Regions from separate parts of the Homo sapiens genome. Here regions 2 and 3 are each linked to region 1. Evidence: promoter capture Hi-C in 16 types of primary human blood cells and fetal thymus (Javierre and others, 2016). All regions are on one chromosome and are shown on one strand. Each heading gives the region's core, a stretch centred on a gene start or on the middle of the fragment in contact. The rest is flanking DNA. Distances are from core to core; before and after follow the strand shown. Region 1 holds the start of KLHL20 (kelch like family member 20). Region 2 has its middle 64 kb from the start of FASLG. Region 3 has its middle 80 kb from the start of FASLG.

Region 1 (4,285 bases), core at 748-3,247:
CCAATATCCTGATCAGATACACTAAAGAAGTAAACTGGGGTACAGAGAAGGTGAACAGCTCAAGGTCAATTGATAAACCAATAACAGATTTGGATAAAGATATACATTCTGGTTCTTGCTCCAAGTTCTGAGTTATAAGTCATATTCCCATTATAAAATGTTTCTTCTCTTAAAAGAACTGCAGAAGTTGTTTATCTTTGATGTTAAATAACAAATGATTAAATAGAGTTCAATAAATAGAAAACAAATGTAAAAACCAAAGAAATAGAACTGGGATGATTTTGTATCATAAAGATTCTAGTCTCATTTGTTAGAACAAAATGAGAAAAAACATTATTAAATTCTAGGGTTGGGAGGGCCTATTTATTGTCTATATTTTCCCAGACATTGTTCTATTTTTCTATGGACTAAGTTATTATGTCTAATACCTATTTTAGTCCTTATACAATCTTCCCTACAATGCAGCTATTTTAATTAACAGAACAAATGTATGATTGAACATCAAGGAAATAACCAAAACCATAATTAGGCATGCAGTACAGTATATTATAAATAATTATGATTCTTACATGGGAACAGAATCCTCTACATTTTATAGGGAACTGAAGATTATAATAAATCCATATAGTATCATAATGAACTTAATGATTATTTACTGTAAAAAACATGAAAAAAGGAAAATTTAAGTGTTTAGCACTACATACAATCCACAGCACTTTTCAGAAACAACTTCTGTATTTTATTCTATTAAAAAGCTATTAATTCTTAATATTACTTTTGATTTATTGTAGAACAAGACTCATTAGTTCCAAGCAGAATTTAGTAAGATTGAAACTCTTTTTTAAAAATTTAAATTATTACATGCTGAATTTTAATCAGTGAAACCAAAGGTTTTCTTCCTAAATGCCTACCTGCGCATTGGCTTTCCTTCCATGCACCATGAAAAGTACCCTTCACCACACTCTAAAGCCGAACCTAAGACAACAGAAAAGCAGGAACTTAATAAAAGCTATTTCTGATCTTTACAGTAACAATCTTTATATAATCATTTCACTCATTTCGTCAGTTATCAAGAGTTTCATATCCTATTATACCACAGGCCTTCTGCAGATGCACAATAACTTAATCTAGTACATTTAAGATTACCATCCTTACTCTGCATGCTAAAACGATTAAAGTAAAGGTGAGGGAAAGTATGCTAAATAGTCCCGACTGTTAGGTCAGTCTTGTTTCTCTTCAAAAAGTGCTTGGAGATATTTAACTGTGATCTCGACATCAAGTATATTTACAGAACAAGCACCAGATACCCACAGCAGTACTAACCTGATAGATCACATAGGGTACACGAGGCTTTAATAACGAATCTGAAGATTGTTAACTTGTCCCGAAGTGACAGGAGGAGGAGGCGTCTGCATTTGCCTTTACAAACAACTCCGCTTCCGACAGTCCAGGGAGCTTGAACAGGGCAGGGAAAGTATGGCTCCAGACTAACACTCTTTACAAGCATTTCCTTCAGTCCCCGATACAATGTTCACTACCCACGTAGCAGGATTTCGCCAGGTCCCGAGGGTTAAATGGGGGCGCACGTACTTTCTTCCTTCCCTGAATTCCAAACACTGTCTGGGGAAGCTGTCCAGGATGCGAAACCCCAGCACCACCAGGCAGGACAAAGCCCGGGGCCTCCTCTGGCTCCCGAGATAGGCTGTCAGCCAGCGAGAGCGCACTCTGGCGCTCCGCGAGGCCCGGCCCCAGCGCCCCAACAGTCTCTTCTCGGCGCCGACTGACAGGCGACCGACCTGACCCCATGGGGCAGCTCAGCAACTTGGGACCACATATCTGCGAAGCGAGCCCTGGGGCGCTGTCCGCTGTCCCCTGCTCTAAGGTGACTGGCTCACTTACCGGCTCTGACACTTTCTTCTCTGCAGCAGCCTCCTCCGTCTACTCCGCCCTCCACTCCTCTCTGCCTCCTCCTCCACCGCCGCTAACGCAGGCAGGATGCCGCTCGTAGAGCTATTTCCTTTCCCTTCACCGGCCCATATCCAGAAGCAGGAAGTAGTCCTATTCTTAAATCGTTCCCGCAGGAACCCACATAATCCGCCAAGGGGTTCCGGTGCGGCTCCGGAAGTAGTCGTGCCCTTTGCTGGGGCATTCAGGTAACCTCAGAGGTTGTTTATCCTCGTGGGGGTTCCTTGTATCCCAAGAGTAACCATTTTTAGAATTCACTGCGGAACTGGCAGTATTTGAATACTGAAGCCTCCTCTTTTCTTCTTTGTTTTCGCCAGCAAAGGCAGTAAAGGGTAGTCACAGAAAGCTAAGAATTTGTATTTCTTTTTAGTTGGTGGGTCTCCTTTTGGCACAATGTTCCTAATTGTGGATTGAATTATTGCATGCACACATGGGTTGGCATGTATCTGTCAGGCCTCTACTATGTGCAAGGTGCAGAAGTTAGATAGACAGACCAGAGATAGACCTTATCCTCCAGATTTCCCACGGTCAAACTTTCAGGACACCAGGATTTTATCCAGGCTCTAAGGCTGTGTTAGTCTGCCCTTTCTACTTAGTATTCACCACCAGACACTTCACCAAACACATCTTCTGTGGATTCACTTTAATGTTAAGGAGGGAAGAGTATATTTTCTTAAAAAAATTTTTTTTCAGTAGCAAGCAGAGCCAAAAAAGTATATTTTTAAAATTATCTTTTCCTCCAGATTTTCCCATAGCACACAGCCACCTGATTTTTACCGTATATTAATATTTAGAAAACAAGTGATACAAGTGTAAGGTGGGGATTACAATTTCAGGAATATCAGAGAAAGACTGTTGCTGATTTCCTGGTAAGTATACTAGGCTAAGTATTAACCAGATTTTCTTTAGCTGTTCTTTATGTAGAATCTACACAGGTGTGTCCAGTTGTTTCTGAGGGGAAAGGATACCTCTTGTTAATTAGCTTGTAGTGGAAAATACATGGCCTTTAGATCCAGATATAGTGGCCCAGTGGATTCTTCTTGCCTGCTGCCCAGATACAGATGATTTATCAAGGTATAGGGATTGCAATGGAGAAAGAGTTTTACACAACATCGAGTGGAAAAATGGAAGAAGTTTTATTATTACTCAAATCAGTTATATTATTACTCAAATCGGCCTCCTGGAGCATTTGGGGGCTAGGTTTCTTTTCAAAGGTAGTCTGGGGAAAGGGGTAGGGGTGGCTAGGCAATGGGTGCTTGCTGCTGACTGGTGCAGTCATAGGGGTATGGGAGATGGTCCTCCTGCCTACTGAGTTGTTTCTGGGTGGAGCCACAGGAACAGTTGGTGGGTCCAGGTGGAGCCATCAGTAGTCAAACATGCAAAAAACTTAAAAATATACCCAAAAAGGCCAATCCTAGATTCTACAATAGTGATGTTATCTGTAGGAGTAATTGGGGAAGTTGCATATCTTGTGACCTCTGGAATAATGGCTGGCAATCACTTATGTCTACACTTAACAGAATTCAGGCTCATCTATCCCCGTTGTCTGGTGGTCTCTCATTAGCTTTACAAAGGCAATTGAGTTTTGGGGAAGGACTGTAATTATTTAAACTATTAAACTAAATGTCTCCCAAAGTTATCTTGGCTTAAGCCCAGGAATAATTAAGGACAGACTGAAAGCTAAAGGCAAGATGGGGTTTGGCTAGATCAGATCTCCTCCACTGCTATAATTTTCTCACTGATAGAATTTTTGCAAAGGGGGTTTCAGTTTGCAAAGGCGATTTCACGGATACACATAGGTACAAATCCTAGACCTGTAACTGACTAGCTTTGTGATCTTATTGAAAATTTTTACTGCATGTGTATATGTGATATATATACATATGCAGTAAAATGATTTCTTTTCCATATTTTAAAACTTTTCATAAATGGTATCAAAGCATATGTATTCTTTTGCAACTTCCATTTTCCACTCAACATTCTGTTTGTAAGATTTGTCCATGTTGATCAATGAAGGTCCAATTCAGTGATTCTCAAAGTGTTGTCCTGGACCAGCAGCATCAACATCACTTGGAAAATGCTAACCCTTGAGCCCCATTACAGACCTATTGAATCAAAAACTGAAGGTGGGCCCCAGTAATCTGTGTTCTAACAAGTTCTCCAGGTGATTATAGTGCATGGTAAAATTTGAGAACTACTGCACTAATTTATTTATTTTCACTGCTTTATAGTATTCTATTATATGAATATACCATAGATTTTTTAAAACATTTTTTTCTGCAGATGGATATTTTGACTATTTCCAGTTTTCTCCATTACA
Region 2 (4,285 bases), core at 719-3,218, 990 kb after region 1:
GGGGGTCAGGTAGATCTCGCTTCAGATAGCTTTGCTTTGCCATTTATTTGGCAGGTGACTGCGGTGAGCTTTTCAATTTCTCTGAGCTGCCTCATCCACATGATGGGGATAATAATTTCTGTATTCTGAGGTCACAGATTAATAGCCTGAGTTGTATTCATTCTGAAAGTAAGTCCTATCTGAATTCATCTAGAGAATCTATCAAGTAGCCTCAAATACAAGGGAAAGAAATTATTCAAAGGCAGAAAGTTATTCAAATACAAGGGAAGGAAGTCATTCAAAGGCAGAAAGAGTCCATGTGCCTGATTTTGGTCCAAGGGTAGAATTGGAGAGATAGAATAGTGCGCCTTCTTATCCGGTGACAGGGCTCCACATGTTATGCCAGAATCTTTGAGAGGAGGAGCTCTAATAAAGAGAGAATTAAAAAATAAATTGTTTCCCCAAAATATTTGCCATTACATCAAGAGTACAAAGGATTCTGATTTGAAACCCATGGAAGAAAACAAGGATGAAAGAGACTTGCACATCTTTTTCTTAATTGAAATATGCACAGTAAAGTAAAAACCTCACATAATTTCATCACATAAAAAGGACATAAATACTAAAAGAAGTTTCACTTTCATTCCCAGAATGCTTTGAGCCTACCCCACCCCTATTCATCTTAACCCCACCCCTCCCACTCCCAGAAAACTACAGTCATTTTGTTATATAACTTTAGAGACTTCTTTCTGTGATTATACACACACAAATACACAAATATTCTTTTTATTTTTTAATTTTTAAAATTTTTAGACATTTAGGGGGTACAAGCACAGATTTCTTACATGTATATATTGCTTAGTGGTGATGTCTGTTCTTTTAGTGTACCCATGACCTGAATAGTGAACATTGTACCCAATGGGTAATTTTTCAACTCTTACCATGTCCCTCCCACTCTCCCATTTTGTTATCTCCAATGTCTATTTTTCCATTCTCTATGTCCATGACATACACATATATTGTTCTTAAATGAGACTGTGCTATGCATATTGGACTGAAATTGCTAAAAGCATCTCATACTCATGCTTTCAGGTCACTATTTATGGGTCACCATACCAAAGCTCCTGGGAGATTTCCCTGTTATTTCAGAGTCCTGAAAATGAATACTGCTATATATAAAAAAACACTTTCTATAAGACTTCCTTAATCCTTTTCAGGAAGAGTAAAGTATCTCTTCAACTGTTTTCCTAAAACATGTGTGTTGCTTATATATTCACTGTATCCCTAATTACATTCTTTTAGTATAGGTGCCAGTTACTGGTAACAACAAAAAAATCAACCTCTGCCAGAATATTTAAAGAGGTTTATTCTGAGCCAATATGAGTGACTATGGCCTGGGGAAACTGTCTCAAGAGGTCCCGAGAAAGTGTGCCCAAGGCAGTTGGGTTAACGTTTGGGAGGGAGACAGAAATTGCATGTCAAAACATAAACGAATACATGGGAGTTGTACATTGAGTCTATTCAAAAAGGCAGGACATCTGGCAGTGAGAGCTTACAAGACACAGGTGAGTTTAGGGATTATTTAGTTGGCAATTGGTTGAAAGAGTTGAGCTTTGTCTAAAAACTTGGAGTCAGTAGAAAGGAATGCTTCAGTTAAGACAAGGGGGTCTGTTTTCTGTTACATGATGCCATACCAGAGTCTGGTTGCAAAAGTAAGCCACAATATACTGGGTCAAAAAAACTTGTTTAACATAATTTTATGTCTTGTAGATTTGACTCCCTGTGGGCCCTTAAAAAGAAATCTGAGAAAGTAAAAATGTCAGAGTTCAGTCCTTACCTGTTTTTTTCCACTAGACTGCAAAGTTCTTACTGAAAAAGGCCTTCCCTACTCTTGACACCTGGACTTCCAAGGGTCTGGAATAAGGCCAATCAAGCCACAATATCTGAAAGAACATGCGATGGGAAGTCAGATCTGAGATTTACGCTCTACCCTGCTAATAATTTGCACCTCATGTGGAGAAGTTCCAGCCCACCTGGATTGTCGCTTCTTCGTTTTTAAAATCTGTTTACATTCAAGGACTGGGATAAACTAGATGTCCTTTAAGGCCACTTCAAACTTTAACATGCGAAACACAAAACTGATGTCTGCAACATGGAATAGTAATAGCTAAAGAGAAAAATGCTTACTATCAAAATATTATTGTTGTCTGACACTAAAATACATATTTTGTGTATGAGACAGGGTCTTGCTGTGTTGCCCAGGCTAGAGTGCAGTGGCACGATCTCTGCTCGCTGCAGCCTCAACCTTCCAGGCTCAAGTGATCCTCCTGCCTCAGCCTCCTGAAGAGCTGGGACTACAGGAATGCACCACCATGCCTGGATAATTTTTGTATTTTTTATAGAGACAGTGCTTTGCCATATTGCCTAGACTGATCTCAAACTCCTGGGCTCAAGCAATCTGCCTGCCTTGGCCTTCCAAAGTGCTAGGATTACAGGTGTGTGCCACTGTGCCCTGCCTGTAAAATACACATTTTAGTCAGTAAAAGTTAGTTACATGTAACTATTCTTATTTGTATGTGAATAACTCTTAAATTCCCATCAGCAACATAGTTAGAAATTATTCCTTAGAGTAGGATATTTTACAGATGGCTTTGTGGCAGGCCAATTCTCCCTGACAATCACACAGACAGGCCTGCATGACAGTCACACAGACAGGCCTACATAGCACTCCAGTTACACAGACAAATTTCCATAGCACTGTCTTACCATTGAGCAAATAGTCAAACCTAGGGAAATCAATGCCCAGACATCAAAACTAGAAATGAAACATATGGTCAGTAGGAACCTTGCATGGGCTTCTCCCTAACCTGGAGCAAACCAAAATAATAGAGACAGTCTTACATTCCTACTGCCAGGACCCATCTTGCATTGACAAAATCTGAGACAAGTCAAGGTAACAGAGGCAGCTGTTTGAATAGATTCATCGGAGAGTCTAAGGCAGCTCTCCGGACCAAGCTGTAAAGGAGATGAGATAGAAATAATCACTCTGGTACCGCAGTAGACAGGCCTTGAAGGTACTGGGGCCCTTTTAATTGGACTTAGCAAGCAATTTTTGCCTCTGACCTTCTAGTTGAAACAGAATCAGTTACCAATAGACTTAGGCGAATGCTATACTGCACATAGGCACATAGCCCCAACCTATATAAGCGCTAAGAAAATTGTAACACTTTGAGTTGGTGGAATTACCTCCGGCCTTCTCTGTGTATCTGGTTACAGTGATAAATTCCCTTCTTTCCTAGTTTGTCTGCTTCTCATTATTGGGACTGGAGAAAACGCAGTCGGACCTGGCTTGGTTCCGGGAATAGCTTGGCAAACAAAATGTACTAATAATTGATTGATTTTCATTATTTTGTTTTTTAAAAGGCAACTTTTCGTGACCCCACATTCCAATTCCAGGGGTTTCTCTATACTGCCTAATTATTCTACAATCACCTAAAAGTATTACTACTATTACTAAAACTATTACTAGTATTAATTTTTATAATAATAAAGATAATAAATTATTACATGGTGCTTCAAAGTTAATCTCTTTCACACCGAAGTTAAATAGATAAAGTAGATAATATTGCTTTCTTGATTGCATGGCCTAAAAACCCTAAGCTAGAGAAATTAGATCACTTACCCAAGGTTGCAAAGCTAATTACTATTGGCTCCTTGGTCAAAATCCAGGGTTTTTGTGCAAGAACAGAAAAATATGTTACTCCATCACTAACAAACAGTGGCAGTTAAACAGGGCTGGACTGCCAAAGAAGAGTCACAGGACCCAAAATGATGATGGTTCACACAAAGGATACACTATTGTAACAGCATTAATATAAGGATATACATCATGGCTAAAGCCTGACTTACAGGAACGGCTCTGGGGAGACCAGGTACAGGCTCCTACTATACCCGCTCTGTGAAGGCTGTGACTGAACACACTTTCTCCAATTACAAATGCATGGAACAACTTGGAACCAGAAAGCCCAAAATGGAATCTCAACTGAGGGTTGTTCTTTTATACACATATTTTGCTGATCAAAAACGCATATTCCTGGCTGGGCACAGTGGCTCACACCTGTAATCCTAGCACTTTGGGAGGCCAAGGCAGGTGGATCACCTGAGGTCAGGGGTTGGAGACCAGCCTGGAAAACGTGGTGAAACCCTGTCTCTACCAAAAATACAAAAATTACTCGGTTCTAGTGGCATGTACCTGTAATTCCAGCTACTCAGGAGGCTAAATCAGGAGAATCGTTGCATCCCAGGA
Region 3 (4,285 bases), core at 482-2,981, 980 kb after region 1:
AGAAAAAGATGAGAGAGAGATTGGCACAGAAAAAAAATTTGAAGAAATAATGGCTTAAAATATGTAAATTATGAAATGAAAAACATAATGTGTAGGGAGCAGGAAATATGTAGTTTTTCTATGTAATGGAATTTAAGGGGTTATCAGCTTAAAACGTACTGTTATACCTATAAGACGTTATATATACACATCTTGGTGACCACAAAACAAAAACCTATAGTAGATATATAACAGACAAAGAAAAAAATCAAAGCATACCACTACAACAAATCATCAAATCACAAAAGAAGACTCAAAATAAGCAAAAAAAAAAAGAAAGAAAGAAAGAAAGAGAAATCTAACAAAATGGCAATAGGAAGTTCTTACCTACTGATAATTACCTTGAAAGTAAATAGATTAAATTCTCTAAGCAAAATAAATAGAGTGGTTGAATGGGGTGGTTTTGTTTGTCTGTTTGTTTGTTTTTGAAATGGAGTCTCGCTCTGTCACCCAGGCAGGAGGGCAGTGGCACAGTCTCAGCTCACTGCAACCTCTCCCTCCCAGGTTCAAGTGATTCTCCTGCCTCAGCCTCCCAAGTAGCTGGGACTACAGGTGCACACTACCACACCTGGCTAATATTTTGTATTTTTAGTAGAGACACATTTCCCCATGTTGGCCAGGCTGGTCTCAAACTCCTGACCTCAAGTGATCTGCCTGTCTCAGCTTCTCAAAGTGCTGAGATTACAGGGATGAGCCACCACACCTAGCCCTGAATGGATTTTTTTAAACCCTAACTATATGCTCTTTATAAGATACTTACTTCAGCTTCTAGGACATGTATAGACTGAAAGTGAAGGGATAGAAAAAGACATTCCATGAAAATGGAAAGGAAAAGATAGCAAATGTAGCTATACTTACGTCAAAATAGACTTTAAGTCAAAACTGTAAAAAGAAACAAAGAAGGCAATTTTTAATGACAAAGGAATCAATATATTAAGAAGATATAACAATTATAAATATATATGCAGGCGACATCAGAGTGCCTAAATACATAAAACACATACTAATAGATCTGAAGGGAGGAATAGACAGTAAAACAATAATAGTGGAGGACTTCAATACCTCACTTTCAACAATTAATAGATCATTCATACAATCAATGAGGAAATATTGGACTTAAACTACACTTTAGACCAAATGGACCTAACAGATGTATACAAAACACTCTCTCCAACAGAAGCATGTACACATTTGTCTTGAGTGCACATGAAACATTCTCTGGGATAGATCATATGTTAGGCCACAAAAGAAGTATTTAAATATGTTAGAAAATTGTAATCATACCAAGTATCTTCTCTGATCACAATGGTATGAAAATAGAAATTAATAACAGGAAAATTCAAAAATATGTGGAAGTTAAATAATGTGTTCCTGAACAGTTAATGGGTAAAGAAAAGAAATCAAAGGGGAAATTTTAAAATATCTTGAGACAAACAAAAATGGAAACAAACATACTAAAACTTAAGGGATGTAGCAAAAGCAGTTATAAGAGGGAAGTTCACGGTAGTTAATGCCTACATTAAAAAGAAAGAACTCAAGTAAACAACTTAATGTTACACTTCAAGGAACTAGAAAGAGAAGAACAAACTAAGCCCAAAGTTGATAGAAGAAAGATCCAAGCAGAAATAAGTGAAACAGAGACTAGAAAGCAATATAAAAGATCAATGAAACCAAAAGGTTTTTTTGAGAAGATTTTTAAAATTCAGCTACACTAAGAAAAAAAGAAAGAAAACTCAAATAAAATCAGTAATGAAAGAAGAGACGTTATGACAAATACCACAGAAATACAAAGGATTGTAAGAGACTACAAGAAACAATTATACACCAAAAAACTGAACAGTCTATAAGAAATGGATAAATCCTAAATATGTATGTGTATATATATATATATATATATATATATATATATATATATATATATATACATAAAACTTATCAAGTCTGAAACAAAAAGAAATAGAAAATCTGAACATACCAATAATGAGTAATAAGATTAAATCAGGAATCAAAAATCTCCCATCAAATTAAAGCCCAATAATAGATGGCCTCACTGGTGAATTCTATTAAGCATTGAAAGAGGAATGAATACCAATCATTCTCACTCTCCCAAAAAAATCGAAGAGGAGGGAAAACTTACAAAGGGATTTTTATGAGGCTAGTACTATCCTGATGCTAAAGTCAGACAAAGACACTACAAGAAAAGATTACAGGTCAATATTCCTGATGAACGTAAATGCAAAAATCCTCTGACAAAACAGCTACAAATTGAATTAAACAGCACATTAAAAGAATCCTACACTATAATCAAATGAGATTTATCCCTATGATGCAAGGATGGTTCAACAAATGTAAATCACTAAATGTGATGCACCACATTAACAGAATGAAGGATTACAATTGTATGATCATCTCAATAGATGCAGAAAAAGCATTTGAAAAAAAAATCAGTATGCTTCTATGACAAAAACTCCCAACAAATTGCGTTTAGCAATAATGTACTTCCACACGATAAGGTCATATATCACAAGCCTACAGCTAACATTCTATTCAATAGTGAAAAGTTGGAAGCCTTTCCTCTAGGATCAGGAACAAGATAAGGATACCAACTCCCACCACTTATATTCAACATTGTACTGGAAGTCCTAGGCAGAGAAATTATGAAAGAAAAAGAAATAAAAGCCATCTAAATCAGAAAAGAAGAAGTAAAATTGTCTCTCTTTGCAGATGACGTGGCCATATATAGAAAACTTTAAAGACTCCAAACACAAAAAAACTGTTAGAACTAACAAGTGAATTCACTAAAGTTACAAAACAGAAAATCGACATACAAAAATAAGTTGCATTTTTATACATTAACAATTAACTATTCAAAAAAGAAATTAAGAAAACAATTCAATTTACTATAGCATCAAAAAGAAGAAAATACTTAGGAATAAATTTAACCAGGGAGATGAAAGATCTGTATACTGAAAACTTTAAAACATTAATGAAAGGAGTGGAAGAAAAAGAAACCACAAATAAATGGAAAGATATCTTGTGTTTATGTATTATAGAATCAATATCAAAATGTTCATACTACCCAAAGTGATCTACAGATTCAATGTAATATTCCACCAGCAAAAAGATTATGACTTGCTGAAGGCATGGTATGCCTATAATATAAAGCATGGCAAAGAATAGTAAATAGAGAAATAAAAACCAGAGGGAAGAAATTATAAAATAATAAAAAAGTAAACCTAAATGTAGCCATATCGATAATTTCATTGAATATAAATGGTCTCAACATGCCAATTAAAAGATAGAAATTGTCAGAGTGGGGAAACAAAGAAGATCACCTAAAAGCTCTGTAGAATTGAAAATTAAGGCCAGGCGCGGTGGCTCATGCCTGTACTCCCAGCACTTTGGGAAACCGAGGTGGGCAGATCAACTGAAGTCAGGAGTTCAAGACCAGCCTGGCCAACATGTCAAAACCCAGTCTCTACTACAAATACAAATATTAGCTGGGCTTGGTGACACGTACCTGTAATCCCAGTTACTTGAGAAACTAAGACAGGAGAATACCTTGGACCTGGGAGGTGGAGGCTGCAGTGAGCCAAGATCACACCACTGCACTCCAGCCTGGGAGACAGGGTGAGCCTCCGTCAAAAAAAAAAAAAAAAGAAAGAAAGAAAAAATTAAACAACACCCTTCTAAATAACCCATTGATCAAAAAGTCTCAAGAGAATTCAGAAAATATTTTGACCTACTTAAATATGAAAAGAACATATCAAAAATTGGGGGATACAATTAAAGTCTATAAGCAGCTTACTATAAATATTATTATATAGATCAATTAAAAATAAAAGAATAGAAAATGACAAACCATCAACATACACTAACAAAAAGAATGCAAGAATGGCTATATTGTTATCAAAGCAAACTTCAGAACAAGGAACATTGTCAGGGAGGAAGAGAGGCAAACATACCAAGAACACATAACAATCCAGGTATGTATGTGCAAAACCACAGAGCTTCAAAATACATGAATCGAAAACTGATACAACTAAAAGGAAAAATGGACAAATCTACAATTATACTTGGAGACATCAAAGCACCTCCTGATAATTAACAGAAGTAGAAAATAGGCAAGAATTAAGAAGACCTGAACAACCAGAAAAGTGAACATTTTATAGCTGCTCAGTCCCTTGTCTTTTGAGAGAAAAAAAACATTCTAGAAAAGATAAAAATGAATTTATTTTATGAACAA

The links. The method cuts DNA at HindIII sites, captures the fragments that hold promoters and counts their contacts. A CHiCAGO score of 5 or more calls a contact.
Region 2: a contact is called between a fragment that was not itself captured here and the fragment with the promoter of KLHL20 in region 1, in 1 of 17 cell types (naive CD8 T cells). The highest score is 5.3, in naive CD8 T cells.
Region 3: a contact is called between a fragment that was not itself captured here and the fragment with the promoter of KLHL20 in region 1, in 2 of 17 cell types (naive CD4 T cells and naive B cells). The highest score is 5.9, in naive CD4 T cells.

What each region holds. Positions count from the first base shown.
Region 1 is chr1:173,712,693-173,716,977 of GRCh38, reverse strand. It overlaps KLHL20 (kelch like family member 20), which reads right to left and starts at 1,997. Exons shown (of 12, transcript NM_014458.4): 1 at 1,900-1,997; 2 at 912-975. The coding sequence starts at 934. It also overlaps a transcript of ANKRD45 not described here. RefSeq lists enhancers at 1,454-1,823, 1,904-2,093. The HindIII fragment of the contact is 9,904 bases long and covers 1-4,285 here.
Region 2 is chr1:172,720,802-172,725,086 of GRCh38, reverse strand. No RefSeq gene overlaps it. Among named protein-coding and RNA genes, the nearest start is that of FASLG, 64 kb to the right of the region's middle. The HindIII fragment of the contact is 6,552 bases long and covers 1-4,285 here.
Region 3 is chr1:172,736,849-172,741,133 of GRCh38, reverse strand. No RefSeq gene overlaps it. Among named protein-coding and RNA genes, the nearest start is that of FASLG, 80 kb to the right of the region's middle. The HindIII fragment of the contact is 5,998 bases long and covers 1-4,285 here.